4 separate regions of the Homo sapiens genome follow, and all the other regions are linked to region 1. Evidence: promoter capture Hi-C in 16 types of primary human blood cells and fetal thymus (Javierre and others, 2016). All regions are on one chromosome and are shown on one strand. The core of a region is centred on a gene start or on the middle of the fragment in contact, and the rest is flanking DNA. Distances in the headings are between cores, read along the strand shown.

The links. The method cuts DNA at HindIII sites, captures the fragments that hold promoters and counts their contacts. A CHiCAGO score of 5 or more calls a contact.
Region 2: a fragment that was not itself captured here is called in contact with the fragment with the promoter of TNFRSF21 in region 1 in 1 of 17 cell types (fetal thymus); the score reaches 5.1 in fetal thymus.
Region 3: a fragment that was not itself captured here is called in contact with the fragment with the promoter of TNFRSF21 in region 1 in 2 of 17 cell types (M0 macrophages and M2 macrophages); the score reaches 5.7 in M0 macrophages.
Region 4: a contact is called between a fragment that was not itself captured here and the fragment with the promoter of TNFRSF21 in region 1, in 2 of 17 cell types (M2 macrophages and M0 macrophages). The highest score is 6.6, in M2 macrophages.

What each region holds. Positions count from the first base shown.
Region 1 is chr6:47,308,305-47,311,576 of GRCh38, reverse strand. TNFRSF21 (TNF receptor superfamily member 21) reads left to right here and starts at 1,672. Exons shown (of 6, transcript NM_014452.5): 1 at 1,672-2,161. The coding sequence starts at 2,066. RefSeq lists enhancers at 1,410-1,704, 1,656-1,835, 1,999-2,721 and a silencer at 1,976-2,205. The HindIII fragment of the contact is 9,028 bases long and covers 1-1,729 here.
Region 2 is chr6:46,860,958-46,864,229 of GRCh38, reverse strand. ADGRF5 (adhesion G protein-coupled receptor F5) reads left to right here. Exons shown (of 21, transcript NM_001098518.2): 15 at 1,134-1,342. Among named protein-coding and RNA genes, the nearest start is that of ADGRF5-AS1, 41 kb to the left of the region's middle. The HindIII fragment of the contact is 379 bases long and covers 1,358-1,736 here.
Region 3 is chr6:47,019,810-47,023,081 of GRCh38, reverse strand. ADGRF1 (adhesion G protein-coupled receptor F1) reads left to right here. Exons shown (of 15, transcript NM_153840.4): 6 at 1,024-1,124; 7 at 2,293-2,351. Among named protein-coding and RNA genes, the nearest start is that of ADGRF1, 21 kb to the left of the region's middle. The HindIII fragment of the contact is 1,585 bases long and covers 710-2,294 here.
Region 4 is chr6:47,036,099-47,039,370 of GRCh38, reverse strand. All of the region lies in intron 1 of ADGRF1 (adhesion G protein-coupled receptor F1), which reads left to right. Among named protein-coding and RNA genes, the nearest start is that of ADGRF1, 4.6 kb to the left of the region's middle. The HindIII fragment of the contact is 1,751 bases long and covers 671-2,421 here.

The sequences.
Region 1 (3,272 bases), core at 423-2,922:
AAAACGTATTTGAAGCTCCTCCTCCTCTTTAATACCTATGTAACTTCTTAAAAAAAAACAACCCAACCTTATAATAGTATTGGCCAGTCATTTGAATTTTTGAAGAAAAAATTGATACAGTTATGCATGAAAACACAGCATCTATCCCTCACTCTTTCAACTTCTGAAAATAGCTAGAGAGTGGCAAGTCCAACCATCATCCTTTCCCCAAAACTCCATAATTAATGGTAATATTTTCTAGAACTCCTTTGAATTTCACTAGAGGTTATATATTGTAGCTTTTTTCCCACTCTAACATTTATAGACAATACTGACAAATGTTTGAAATAATAGATTGGAATTAACCCTCATATTAATTTTAGCTTCTACCAAAGTGTGCATAGAGCAAAGAATCAAAGGACAACATGTTAACTAATAAAGCAAATAATTGGTACCTATGACTTAGCAAGTTACCTTTATTAGCACTGGGTGTTGGATCTTGAAACTGATAGTTTAAAAAGTGTGATTCTTTTGAAATGGGACCAAAGGAGCCTAGGATAAGCCCAGCACCATAGGGCTCCCAATTGAGGGGTGTGGACTGGATGGCTGAAGAGGTAATATCAATACAGTGTGCCATGTGCTGTCAGTACCTAGATGATGGATAACACGATACCAGAAATGGTGGCCACAGTCAGGAGACTCGGCCTTCCCCCAGGTGAAACAAAGAAAAGGATAACAGCTGCTCTCTTACATTCAGAAGTGTGTGAGATACCAACATCCACGAGAATATTCCAGTTCTCCTTCTGAAGCAGAATACTACCTATTCTACCACCCACATCCTGACAAGGCCTTTGGAAATCAACTCAAAAATTTTTAGCATTATTTTTTGGGGGAAGGGTGATTAAAAAAAATCTCAGGGATAATCCGATTCAAAACTCTTGATTTTTAAATTAGGAAAATGCATCTTTTGATACATTTCAAGGAGTTCAAAAGTCCCTCCAAGACCATCCATGGACCCAACACCAATGACTCTGGGTTTTAAATCCTTTTAGTTTGGATTTCCTTAATTGCATTCATAAGCCCATATTAAAATTAAAATATAAAAAATTAAAATCTTTGCCCCATATTAAAATCACCCTGAAAACTTAAAAAACAAACAAACAACAACAACAACAAACCTCAATGCCCAGACCAGATCCTGTCCTGTTCCAATTAAATCAGAGTCTCTAGAGGTGGGACCCAAGAATCAATATATATGTTTTGAACTCTCCAGGTGATTCCACAGGGCAGCAAAGTTTGAGAAGCAACACACAGGTCTCCTTTTTCGTCACGCAGTTGATCTAAGTGCTCTGTGGTCTATTCACCATCGCTCTCTGATTTAATCATCGTGTCCGAAACAATGGAAAGGCGTATGTAGCTGAAATAATTTAGTTGGAATTATCTCGGAAAAAATAAGTAAAGTTAGATCAGGAGTGAGATGCTTTCTCAGCGCTTTCCCTGGGTCAACAGGCGCGTGCAATTTCCTCAGCGAACGCCAAGGGGCACCCTCTCCCTCCCCGCTCTACCTGGAACGCCTTCGCCTTTCCAACCGCACAAAGAGCCCGGCCTCCTCCCGGGTGACATCACAAAGGGCCGGTCCCCCGCCCCTTCGGCGCCACCACGTGTGTCCCTGCGCCCGGTGGCCACCGACTCAGTCCCTCGCCGACCAGTCTGGGCAGCGGAGGAGGGTGGTTGGCAGTGGCTGGAAGCTTCGCTATGGGAAGTCGTTCCTTTGCTCTCTCGCGCCCAGTCCTCCTCCCTGGTTCTCCTCAGCCGCTGTCGGAGGAGAGCACCCGGAGACGCGGGCTGCAGTCGCGGCGGCTTCTCCCCGCCTGGGCGGCCGCGCCGCTGGGCAGGTGCTGAGCGCCCCTAGAGCCTCCCTTGCCGCCTCCCTCCTCTGCCCGGCCGCAGCAGTGCACATGGGGTGTTGGAGGTAGATGGGCTCCCGGCCCGGGAGGCGGCGGTGGATGCGGCGCTGGGCAGAAGCAGCCGCCGATTCCAGCTGCCCCGCGCGCCCCGGGCGCCCCTGCGAGTCCCCGGTTCAGCCATGGGGACCTCTCCGAGCAGCAGCACCGCCCTCGCCTCCTGCAGCCGCATCGCCCGCCGAGCCACAGCCACGATGATCGCGGGCTCCCTTCTCCTGGTGAGCGCTTGCGTGGACCGGGGGTGGCGGCGGCGCCGGAGCAGAAGGAACCGCTCTCCGGGAGCCGGGCGGGTCACCGGGCCGGGGCTTAGGGAGGCGCGGGGCCCGGCCGACTGGGTTACGGGCACTGAGGGGTTTCCAAGGGAAGGCAACACACCAGAGGGCCTCGACTAGGTTATTTGGGGGAATCTCAGGGCTCAGCCGGGGCTGGGGAATGAAGACGAATTGTTTTCCTTGCAGTCTGGCTTTGCTGGAGGAGACGCTAGAGGTAGCCGCCCAGCTTCTGCGCATTTGAGGGCTTTTCCCCCTACTCGGCCTACCTCGCGCTCCCCACGCCCGCAGCCACAGCCCCCCACCCATCGGCCACTGCCCCTCTGCGTGGTGTGGGGCCTCGCCGCGGTGTGGGGCTCCCACGGCCGGCCGAGGCCGGCGCTTTGTTGCAGCTGCAATGTCATGTCGGGATGCTACCGCAGTGGAAGACAGTGGTACCGGTGCGCGCCGGACACCGGAGACCTCCGGGTGCTGTCGCGCGGTGCATTCCCGAGCAGGGCGCAAGCCGCCCCCTCCTCAATCCCTTTACCCTCTCTCTTCCCTCTTGGCTCGGGTGGGGTCTCAGGTTCTGTATGCCGAAATATCACCCTTAGACCCACTCTCCGGCGCCTCCAAAGCGCCGGCTTCCAGCCAGCCAGCGCGCCGGCACTGGAATGGGGGGAGGGGGAAGGAGATGTGTGTGAAGGAAGATGAATTTTCTACAGTCTTTCCGATCCCTCGTTTACCTGTGGCTAGGCAGGTGACCCTGCAGGGTGGTGCAGTCTCCCTCATCGTCTAAGCTGCATCCACATCTCGGGTCAATCATCTTGACCAAAAACTTACCCTCAACTTCCCCCAAATTCCCTCCCTTTATTTCCAAATATTGGGGTGAAGGGGCAAGTTAGGTGGAAGAAAATTTGAGATCAAACCCTTGAGCTTCCCTTGCCTATCTTTTATCACTGCAGGAGGGATGGAAATTCTTAGCTAAAAACCGAACAAAAAAACCCCCAAGAAACAAGAGCTTGTTTTCACGACAGGGCTGTGTAAGGGAAAAGCAGGCTTGCTGTCTCCTTCCCCAAAA
Region 2 (3,272 bases), core at 298-2,797, 450 kb after region 1:
AGCCCATGTTGGGGAGCTCCCCTCAGCAGCAGGGAAGGATAGATCATCCTAATACAAGGTCATCTTAAGGGAGAATCTTATGTTAAGACAAGGGGTAAATGATGACCCTGGGCTTCTACCATAAGCAACTCCTCATCCTCTTAAATCTTCCCAGCAACAGGACTTGTGATAGACAAAGGATCGTTATCACCAAGATTGTTTGAGTTTACTGAATAGTTTGTGGTCATTCTCACATGTTGGCAACTAGCCCCTGGGCACCAAAACAGGAAACAATTTAGAGTCACTTTCACCTGACCTTTCCACGCACAAGTACAACCCCTCCAGGGTGCAGCAAAGGTCACCTCTTCTTTTCCCCATCACTCATCTTAGCCAACACATTTTATTCACTTATCTTTGTTCTTCTCCTCTTTCTTTATACCAAATATGGTTTCGCTTCTTTTTCCTAGTAGAACATTACTTATTTAAGATTTATATACAGTGGTTAAGATCTTAATGTTAAAGAAAAGTGTTGGTGAGGGAGGGGTCTCATCAGAGTCAGGGTCCACTGGACATGAGAGATTCCACAGCAAGTGTCATTTCCCCATCCTTGCCTGGTCATGAGAAGAGGTGAAATAGAATCACCTCTAAGGGAAACCAGAAGGAACAAATGCTTAAACATATTGATTAGAATATTCAGGTCATGGGTACCTAGAGTTCCTACTAGCAATTATGTCTTTGGATTATGGCAGTGATTCTCAACCTTGACAGCACACTGGAATCACCAGGGAGGCTTAAAAACCTGCTGATGCCTAAATCCCGCTCTGACGATTCCGATTTACTTAGCCCAGACACTGGTGTTTTCAAAAGCTTCCCAGATGATTCTAATATGTCACAGTTGAGAATCTCCAGATGAAGGTATAAAATTCTGTTAGGAAAAGGAAGTTCCGATTACAGAAGTCAGGTTCATGTGGAAAGCAGAGAGGGGCTTTGGAAAATCAAGGGCAAAATTAAGAAATTGGGTAGTTCTGAAAAGGTGACGGAAAGTAAAGGTAAATGTGAATTCAAACATCAAAATTCTACCTTGGCCTGACCGTATTTCTACTATATTGTCTCTTCCTTGCAATTATCCCTTTATTTCAATGTTTCCAACACAGGGGAAAACATCACATGCCAGGATCCCGTAATAGGTGTCGGAGAGCCGGGGAAAGTCATCCAGAAGCTATGCCGGTTCTCAAACGTTCCCAGCAGCCCTGAGAGTCCCATTGGCGGGACCATCACTTACAAATGTGTAGGCTCCCAGTGGGAGGAGAAGAGAAATGACTGCATCTCTGCCCCAATAAACAGTCTGCTCCAGATGGCTAAGGTGATCCTTAAAGCTTCCACTCTGAGCTCTTGGTGGGGCGATCTATCTGGCTGATCATATTTCTCAGCACTTAGGAAAATGGGTTTGGTGCTGCTTTGTGTTGCTCCAAAACTACTTTTATTTGTGTATTTCCAAAGGAGATGCAACCCTAGAAATGCAAAAAAAAAAAAAAAAAAAAAAAAAAGCCTCAATTCAAATACTAAGACAACTAAGTATGTGTTCTGCTCTCAGACCGACTAGATACCTTAACCTTGACTTCTCAGTACCATGTGTTCCATACCTCCAGGGGGCAGCGGTATTATCCTCTCTCTTATTGCTCTCCTTTGAGTAATTTTGATACCAAGAAAATTGCTATAATCCTTTCAGAAAAAGGAGCAATATAAAAAAACAAGCTTCATCAATTTCTTTAAAAAAAATAGCTGGGCTTGATGCTCTTACAGGTATGAAATTTTCTGACTACTTGGAAGTAACTTGTGCTTTTGAAGAAGCAACTACCCTGCCTCTCTTACCTATAATAGAGGTTACCGCTATGTAACAGGGCAGAAGTTCCTTTCCTTCTGTCAATGTAAAAAAATGGGACCTCCACACTTGATTTGTTGTTAGACTCCTAAAATTCCATGAATTACATTAAAAAATTCTGGTGATGCAACTGGTGAGGTTATAGGTAATGATGACATCTTCAGACAACCAATTCCAAATCCTCTCACCACTGGGTAAATAATTGAAAAAAAGGGTAATACTTATATGTGTTTCATCTAATTAACTTCTATCTCTTCTCTTGTCTCACACCAAATTTATTAAAATCTCTACTATGTGCAAAGCATGATTATAGGTGCTGTCAAGGTAAATGGGCCAAATCAGATCTTTGTCTCTGGTAAAGAAAATAATCGAATTGGGTAGTTACATACACATTAATTTGGCTAAGATAAATTAAGAAGATCTGCTTGAAAAAAATAGGCATCTGAGCTGGACCTTGATGAATGAGGCATGAGAGATATAAATTATCCTAATGAAGAAAGATAGAAATTGTAATCTGAACTCGATGTGGGCCCAAGTCCCAATTCTAGATACCTACATACATTTTCAATGGAAAAGGATCATGCTGCTCTATCATGCTTCCTTTGATTTATCCATTCAGCATATACTTACTGGATACTTACTGTGTGCTGAGTTATATGACTTGTACTATGTTAGGAATTATAGGAATGAGAAGAATGTAAAGAAATGTAGCACATGGTCCATGTTGTTAAGGAGCTTATAATTTAATTGGAGCAATATCAAAATTAGAACACAAGATGACACTACTGGAGATGCCACAAATGAAAGTATGTTATATAAAACCAATACTTACGCATTCAGAGGAAGGAACTTTCCTGGGTTGGAACATCTATCAAATGCTTTTCGTAGAAGACAGAATTTGAGCTATTCTATACGATTAAGTAAGAGAGAGTTAGAAAGCAGAAGTGTAATCATACAGGTAGGGTGACCATATAATCTATCATCTAAGTCGGGACACATTTTGAGAATATAAGAGGGCACTCTTAATAAATACACAAGGAGAAAAGGTATAAACCAGAACAGTCCCTGGAAAATTGGAAGGGTCAGTCACTTTAATGATTGGCAGGGTAAGTGATATGAGGAAAACCAAAAAGTGGCAACTGTGCTTCCATACCGACTATCCAAGTGACCATTGCACCCAACTTTAACCTACTTCTCTAGCCATCACATCTAGCTTCCCTTTTTTGTTCCAATTAGCTATCAGGTTGACATACATTTGTTCCCCTTCTGTGTGTGGCCTTATGTCATATTCTGTTCTGAAGAGCATGCATGGAGTGCTTAAGGGATAAGCACATCATCTTATGGGACATATTTATGGAAATGGAGCAAAAAAGGAAACAACGGATGTGAGAGATTTTGCCAGGAATGGATC
Region 3 (3,272 bases), core at 253-2,752, 290 kb after region 1:
GCAATTTGGAAGCCTAAGGCGGGCTGATTGCTTGAGCTCAGGAGGAGTTCGAGACCAGCTTGGGCAACATGGCAAAAATGCATCTCTACAAAAAATACAAAAATTAGCTATTTACAGGTGTGGTGGTGTGTGCCTGTAGTACCAGCTACTTGGGGGGCTGAGGGAAGAGGATTGCTTGAACCCAGAAGACTGAGGCTGCAGTGAGCCAAGATCGTGCCACTGCACACTAGCCTAGGTGACAAAAGTGAGACCCTGACTAAAAAAAAAAAAAAAAAAAGAAAAAAGAAAAGAAAGAAAGGAAAGAAAAAGGTGGTCCATGTCTAATCCATCTTTGAAAGATACAAAACTGGATCAGACAGGGATGACACTTATGAGGAGCTTCCCACAGTACCGTGGAGATGTGCATAGATGAGACATACACAAATCAATGTTTAGGAATATGTAAGAGGATGGGAGGCAGATAGGGATAAAGTACTGTAGGAATTTAGAGGAGAGAAAGACTCTGCATCTGAGGATTAGAGAAGACCTTGTGGAAGAGATGATATTTGACTAGGTCCTGAATGAAGGATAAATAGAATTTGTCCACACAGAGAATTGTCCCATTGCAGAGAAGTACTGGCAATGGGTAAGTAAGGAATGTGTTGGAGTTAGCAAGTAGTGTTGCTGTTACGGTCATCGTTTAATTTTTAATAGGGACAATGCTTAAGCTTATTGCCCAGATGAAGATACATTTCAGAGTTCAGTGAATGCCTTCTTTAGTGACACATGAGAGGCCACGCATTTACCTACTTTTAAGGTTGCCTTGATTACCAGCACTTCCCTATTACTGCTCCAAATCTGCAGTCAGAAACTCTGCTTTTATGTATGCATCCTGTGTTATTTTAGGTGAACATTTCTTATGAAAAAAATTTGAAACATCACTGTTGAATAGATGACTCTGAATTGTACTTCTATAATTGTATGCTACTAGTAAATCAAGTTAGAAATTTATTATGTCTATAAACTTATTTTTATTTCCTACAGAGATTTGGGGCACTTTCAAAATTAATGAAAGGTTTACAAATGACCTTTTGAATTCATCTTCTGCTATATACTCCAAATATGCAAATGGAATTGAAATTCAAGTAAGCACTTTCTACTTATTATATAAGGAATCGTTTGCTACACTCAAGTTCAAATGTTTTCAATTCAGCATGTATATTTAATACATATTCTTAATTATTCGTTTTCAGTGAGCAAATAACAAAACAGTTATTTGCTCTGCCCACAGTTGAAATTCCCTGAGTATCTTCTTTCTAGGAAAGTTTAGCAGCTGACTTCTTTGCACTTCTCTTGTGTTCAGTTTTGCTCACTTATTTTAGCAATATACTAAGGCTTCTTGATTATTTTCTCTTTTAATTTTTTTATAAAAAATTTTTATGGACCGGGCATGGTGGCTCACGCCTGTAATCCCAGTACTTTGGGAGGCTGAGGCAGGCAGATCACTTGAGGTCAGGAGTTCGAGACCAGCCTGGCCAGGATGGTGAAACCCAATCTCTACTAAAAAACACAAAAATTAGCAGGGCATAGTGACATACACCTGTAATCCCAGATACTCAGGTGATGAGGCACGAGAATTGCTTGAACCCGGGAGGTGGAGTTTGTAGTTAGCTGAGATTGTGCCACTGCACTCCAGCCTGGGTGACAGAGTGAGACTCCACATCAAAAAACAAAAAAAAATCATGATCTAAGCTCAATTGTCAGCATTTGGGATTTGTTCTATAAAGAAAACTCTGTTGTTAGAGGCTGAAGAGAGTTACTGAGCAAAACTCTCAACTTTATAATAAAGTCACATAAAAACTAGATCAGTGTCCCTCTGCCTAGGATGCTGGCTCAGGTGTAGCTCTAACTGAAGACCCGAGCAAATACTTAATAGATGGATTCGGTCTAAGTACCTGTAAAAATTAATGGCTTGTTTTTCATAAGGAAAAAATGGATTTTGGGTAAATTTATTCTACGATCTGGCATCAAATTCATCTCCTATTCTAAGCAGTTGGTTATTCACAATTTATTAGCAATCTCAAAGGTACATTTTATACGTGTATATGTATGGATATGTGTGTGTGTATGTATACATTCACAACTGTTATTTTAACTGTATTTGTATGACATGCAATTACTTCCCACTGTGTCTCTTTTCTTTGCTCCTTTGCTACTGTTGATTTATTTATTGTCTGTATCAATTTTTGCTCAAATGTCTTTCTGAAGTACGGGAAGAACAATTAACACATTGTTCTTTGTTCTCTTTCTAAGCTTAAAAAAGCATATGAAAGAATTCAAGGTTTTGAGTCGGTTCAGGTCACCCAATTTCGGTAAGTAACACAATGGTCTTAGAAGGGCATCCCCAGAATTGGGCACCAGTTCTGCAAAAGGCAGAGTGCTGTTTTTAGGTGACCCTGACAGAAAACAGGACAGAAGTCATCTTTATAGTAGGATTTTTACTAAGTGAACAAGGATCTGTGATGCTTTAAAAAGTCTGAAGAGTAAAGCCTAGATTCTCACTTAAATGAGTTTAGGACCTTAAATTTTTTTTTTTTTTTGACAGAATGTCACTCTTGTCGCCCAAGTTGGAGTGCAATGGCACAATCTAGGCTCACTGCAACCCTGCAACCTCTGCCTACCGGGTTCAAGAGATTCCCCTGCCTCAGCCTCCCAAGTAGCTGGAATTACAGACACCTGCCACCACATCCAGCTAACTTTTTTTGTATTTTTAGTAGAGACAGGGTTTCACCATGTTGGCCACACTGGTCTCAAACTCCTGACCTCAGGTGATCCGCCTGCCTCGGCCCCCAAAGTGCTGGGATTACAGGCATGAGCCACCACATCTGGCCTAGGACCTTAAATATTGGAAAGCATTCTCAAAACTGTGGGTCAGTGAGTAGAACTACAAAACAATAGCAGTAGGGCAGAAACTTGAAAGAAGGCAGGAGATCATGGTGACAGTGGATGGGAAAAAGTGAGGGTTGGGGATAAGGGTTGCGGGTTGTCGAAGGGTGGATTTTCTCCTTCAGCAACTACAGGAGATATGATGCCTCATAATTCGGAGCCAGAAGTGGGGCTTTGGGTGAGATATCTTTGCACAGATAACATGTATACATCATAGTTCAAAACCCAGTAGTCATTGTTTACAGCAAATAAAGAAATATTTAGTAAATTATCCTTTTGTTTATGCCTTAATTCCAAAAGTTGTTTAGTTAGCCATGTTTACATTAATTACCAACTATTAATAATCT
Region 4 (3,272 bases), core at 297-2,796, 270 kb after region 1:
AGAGTTAAAATAAATTTCCTATGTGTAGTCAGTTGAATAAAGAAAATGCAGAGATGAGCAGCAATGAGGTATGCAGTCCTAAAACTGCAAACTCTAGTTACATTTTATTGATGAGCATTATCAGATCCTCATGGTGTCTTCTTGGTTTTAGTGCAAATGTCAGTTTTTAATCTCCAGAGGTCCACAAATCTAAAGACTTTAAAGTCCTTAAGAAAATTTTCTTATTCTTTTCTTCTTTCTTGGAAGACAAAACTTTAAAACCTGATAAGAGTTTCTTTATTGTTTTGGGATAAGCAGATATTTATTATACATTTGTGAAGTTGGGACAGCCTGTCATAGTACAACAGATTCACACCTGCAAAGTTTTGGGTAAAGAGAATTTGTGTTAAGCAGATTATATTTTCCATGAACACCTTTTACACTTGTGTTTGTACTGCATGCAGCCCGACTCTACTTGGAGACTTTCCTATGCTTCGTCTCTTAGATAATCAAGCTAATTATTTCTGATAAGACACTTAATGATATATTTCTTAGGCATATCATAGTCTTTTACGTTGTTGAACAAGGTATCAATTAAGCAAGTAATTGGTAAAAGATGTAGATAGCAGTAGAATTTTAAAAATATATTTAGGTCAGAATTTTATAGGAAAAGGGCCTCATTAAACAAGCTTACAGCTAGACAGGGGGAATAAATTCTAGTGTTCTATACCACTGTAGAATGATTATACTTAACAATAATATATAGTTTCAAATAGCTAGAAGGAGAGTATTCAATGTTCCCAACACAAAGAAATGATAAACGTTTGAGATGATGGATATGCTAATTACCCTGATCTGATCACTGTATATCACATATATCAAAACATCACTAGGTACTCTATAAATGTGTACAATTATTATTTGTCAATTAAAAATAAAATTTAAAATAAATAGAATTGATAAAGAATTATCAAGGTGGTCTGGATAAAAAACTGTTTCATTGGGAAAAATAGTTGGCAAACTTGGCTATTCACTTGGAGGAAATGAAAGGAAATCTGAAAACCTAAATAAATTCCAGCAGGATTGAATATTTACTTATTTCGTCCCAAAACCTAAATTAACTTAAGAAAGATTGAAGAATTAAGTGTACTAAAAATAATTTTAAGAACTAACTGTTAGACTAAAATGTAGAAGAATGTTTTCCAATCTTTTTATAGAAAACACATTCTTCGGCCGGACACGGTGCCTCACGCCTGTAATCCCAGCACTTCTGGAGGCTGAGGCGGGTGAATCACCTGAGGTCAGGAGTTCGAGACCAACCTGGCCAACATGGTGAAACCACATCTCTACTAAAAATACAAAAATCAGCCGGGCATGGTGGCGTGCACCTGTAGTCCCAGGTACTCGGGAGGCTGAGGCAGGAGAATCACTTGAACCCAGGAGGAAGAGGGTGCAGTAAGCAGAGATTGCACCACTGCACTCCAGCCTGGGTGACAGGGCGTGACTCCGTCTCAAAACACAAACAAACAAACAAAACCACACATTCTTCACACAACCCTAAGTTTAAAATCCATAATGGGGCTGAGTGTCGTGGCTCATACCTGAAATCTCAGCACTTTGAGAGGCTAAGGAAGAAGGATCACTTGAGCCCAGGAGTTCAAGGCCAGTGTGAACAATATGTCAAGACCATGTCTCTGCAAAAAAATAAATTAAAAAATAATTAGCTGGGTGTGGTGGTGTGTGCCTATAGTCCCAGCCACCCAGGAGGCTGAGACGAGAGGATCATTTGAGCCCAGGATGGGGCTACAGTGAGCTATGATCATGGCACGGCACCCCAGCCTGGGCAACAGAATGAGACCCTGTCTCTAAATACAACCAAAAGTAAAAATGAATAAGTAAAATCCATAATGGAAAAGATTAACAGGTGTGATTTCATGAACATTTTAAACTTTTGTGCAGAAGAAAATAAGGCAAAAGTTTTAAAGATGAACTACAAATCATGAGCAAATACCTATAACAGGAGCGACAAAGACAAAAGAGTTCCTAAAACACAATTTTTAAGAAAAAGATGAACATTCTAATCAAAAAATTTAGGAAAATGACTTAAATAGTCAAGCTGGAAAAAAATACAAATGGTCAGTAAACCCCTGAAAAAATGCTTAAACTTACTGATAGTCAAACACAGGAAAATTAAAACAATAAGGCAAAAATTTTGCCTATCCATTTGGGAACATTAAAAAGATACTGTGGATAGAGTGATGAAACAGGCATTTCTGCACCTTACCAGTGAGTATAAATGGGTACAGGTTAGGAGGTCAATTTGGCCATGTCTAGAAAAACTCAACATATATAAACCTTTTGAAGCAGCACTTTCCTTTTAACTTAGAAAAGTTAAAAGTTAAATCCTGGTTTGCCTGGAATTCAGATGCGTGAAAGGAAGCTTAATAGAAGGGAAGTTTGAGCACAAATTGTGGGAGTTCAAAACTGCTATGATCTTGAGTTTGCTTTTCATTCTGTATGGTGTAGAATCTTGATGGTTTCTGAGGATGAACTGATGTGATATTTTCAGGATAGGTGGAATGCCAGTCAACTAGTTCTATTTCTAGAAGAATCATCTGGGGAATATGATTTTAAAACTTATTTTTACTTTTTAAGAAAATTATAATGAAAATACTATTCATATGTAAAGGGAAACATAAAGAATTAGTGGGTTTTGGTAGGTTTGAAACAATGAAGATTTATCAGTGTAACCATTGAATGAGAAGTCGGAGAAGTATGTTTTACTCCTATTTAAAACAGATCACCCAAGAAGAGTTTGTGACATCTTTAATCTGACCATTTATGTATAAAGGTCCCACAGAGCCTGTTCTGCAGGGGTTTTCCAGCAGGCCTGATCATTTGTGTTTCCATCCTTGGACTCCTGACTCTCCTTCGACACTGAGGACAATCATATTTGTCAGGAAGATAGCTTGTTTTTTCTTGTGTAATTTCAACTTTTATTTTAGCATCAGGGGGTACGTGTGCAGTTTTGTTATATGGGTATATTGTGTAATGTTGAGGTTTGGGGTACAAATGATCCCGTCACCAGGTAGTGAGTGAGCATAGTACCCAATAAGTAGCTGTTTTTTGTTTGTTTGTTTTGTTTTGTTTTGTTCTGTTTTTGAGACAGGGTCTCCCTCTCTCTCCCAGGCTGGAGTGCAGTGGCGCGATCTTGGCTCACTGCAACCTCCGCCTCCAGGGCTCAGGTGACTTTCCCACCTCAGCTCCCAAGTAGCTGGGACCACAGGTGCGTA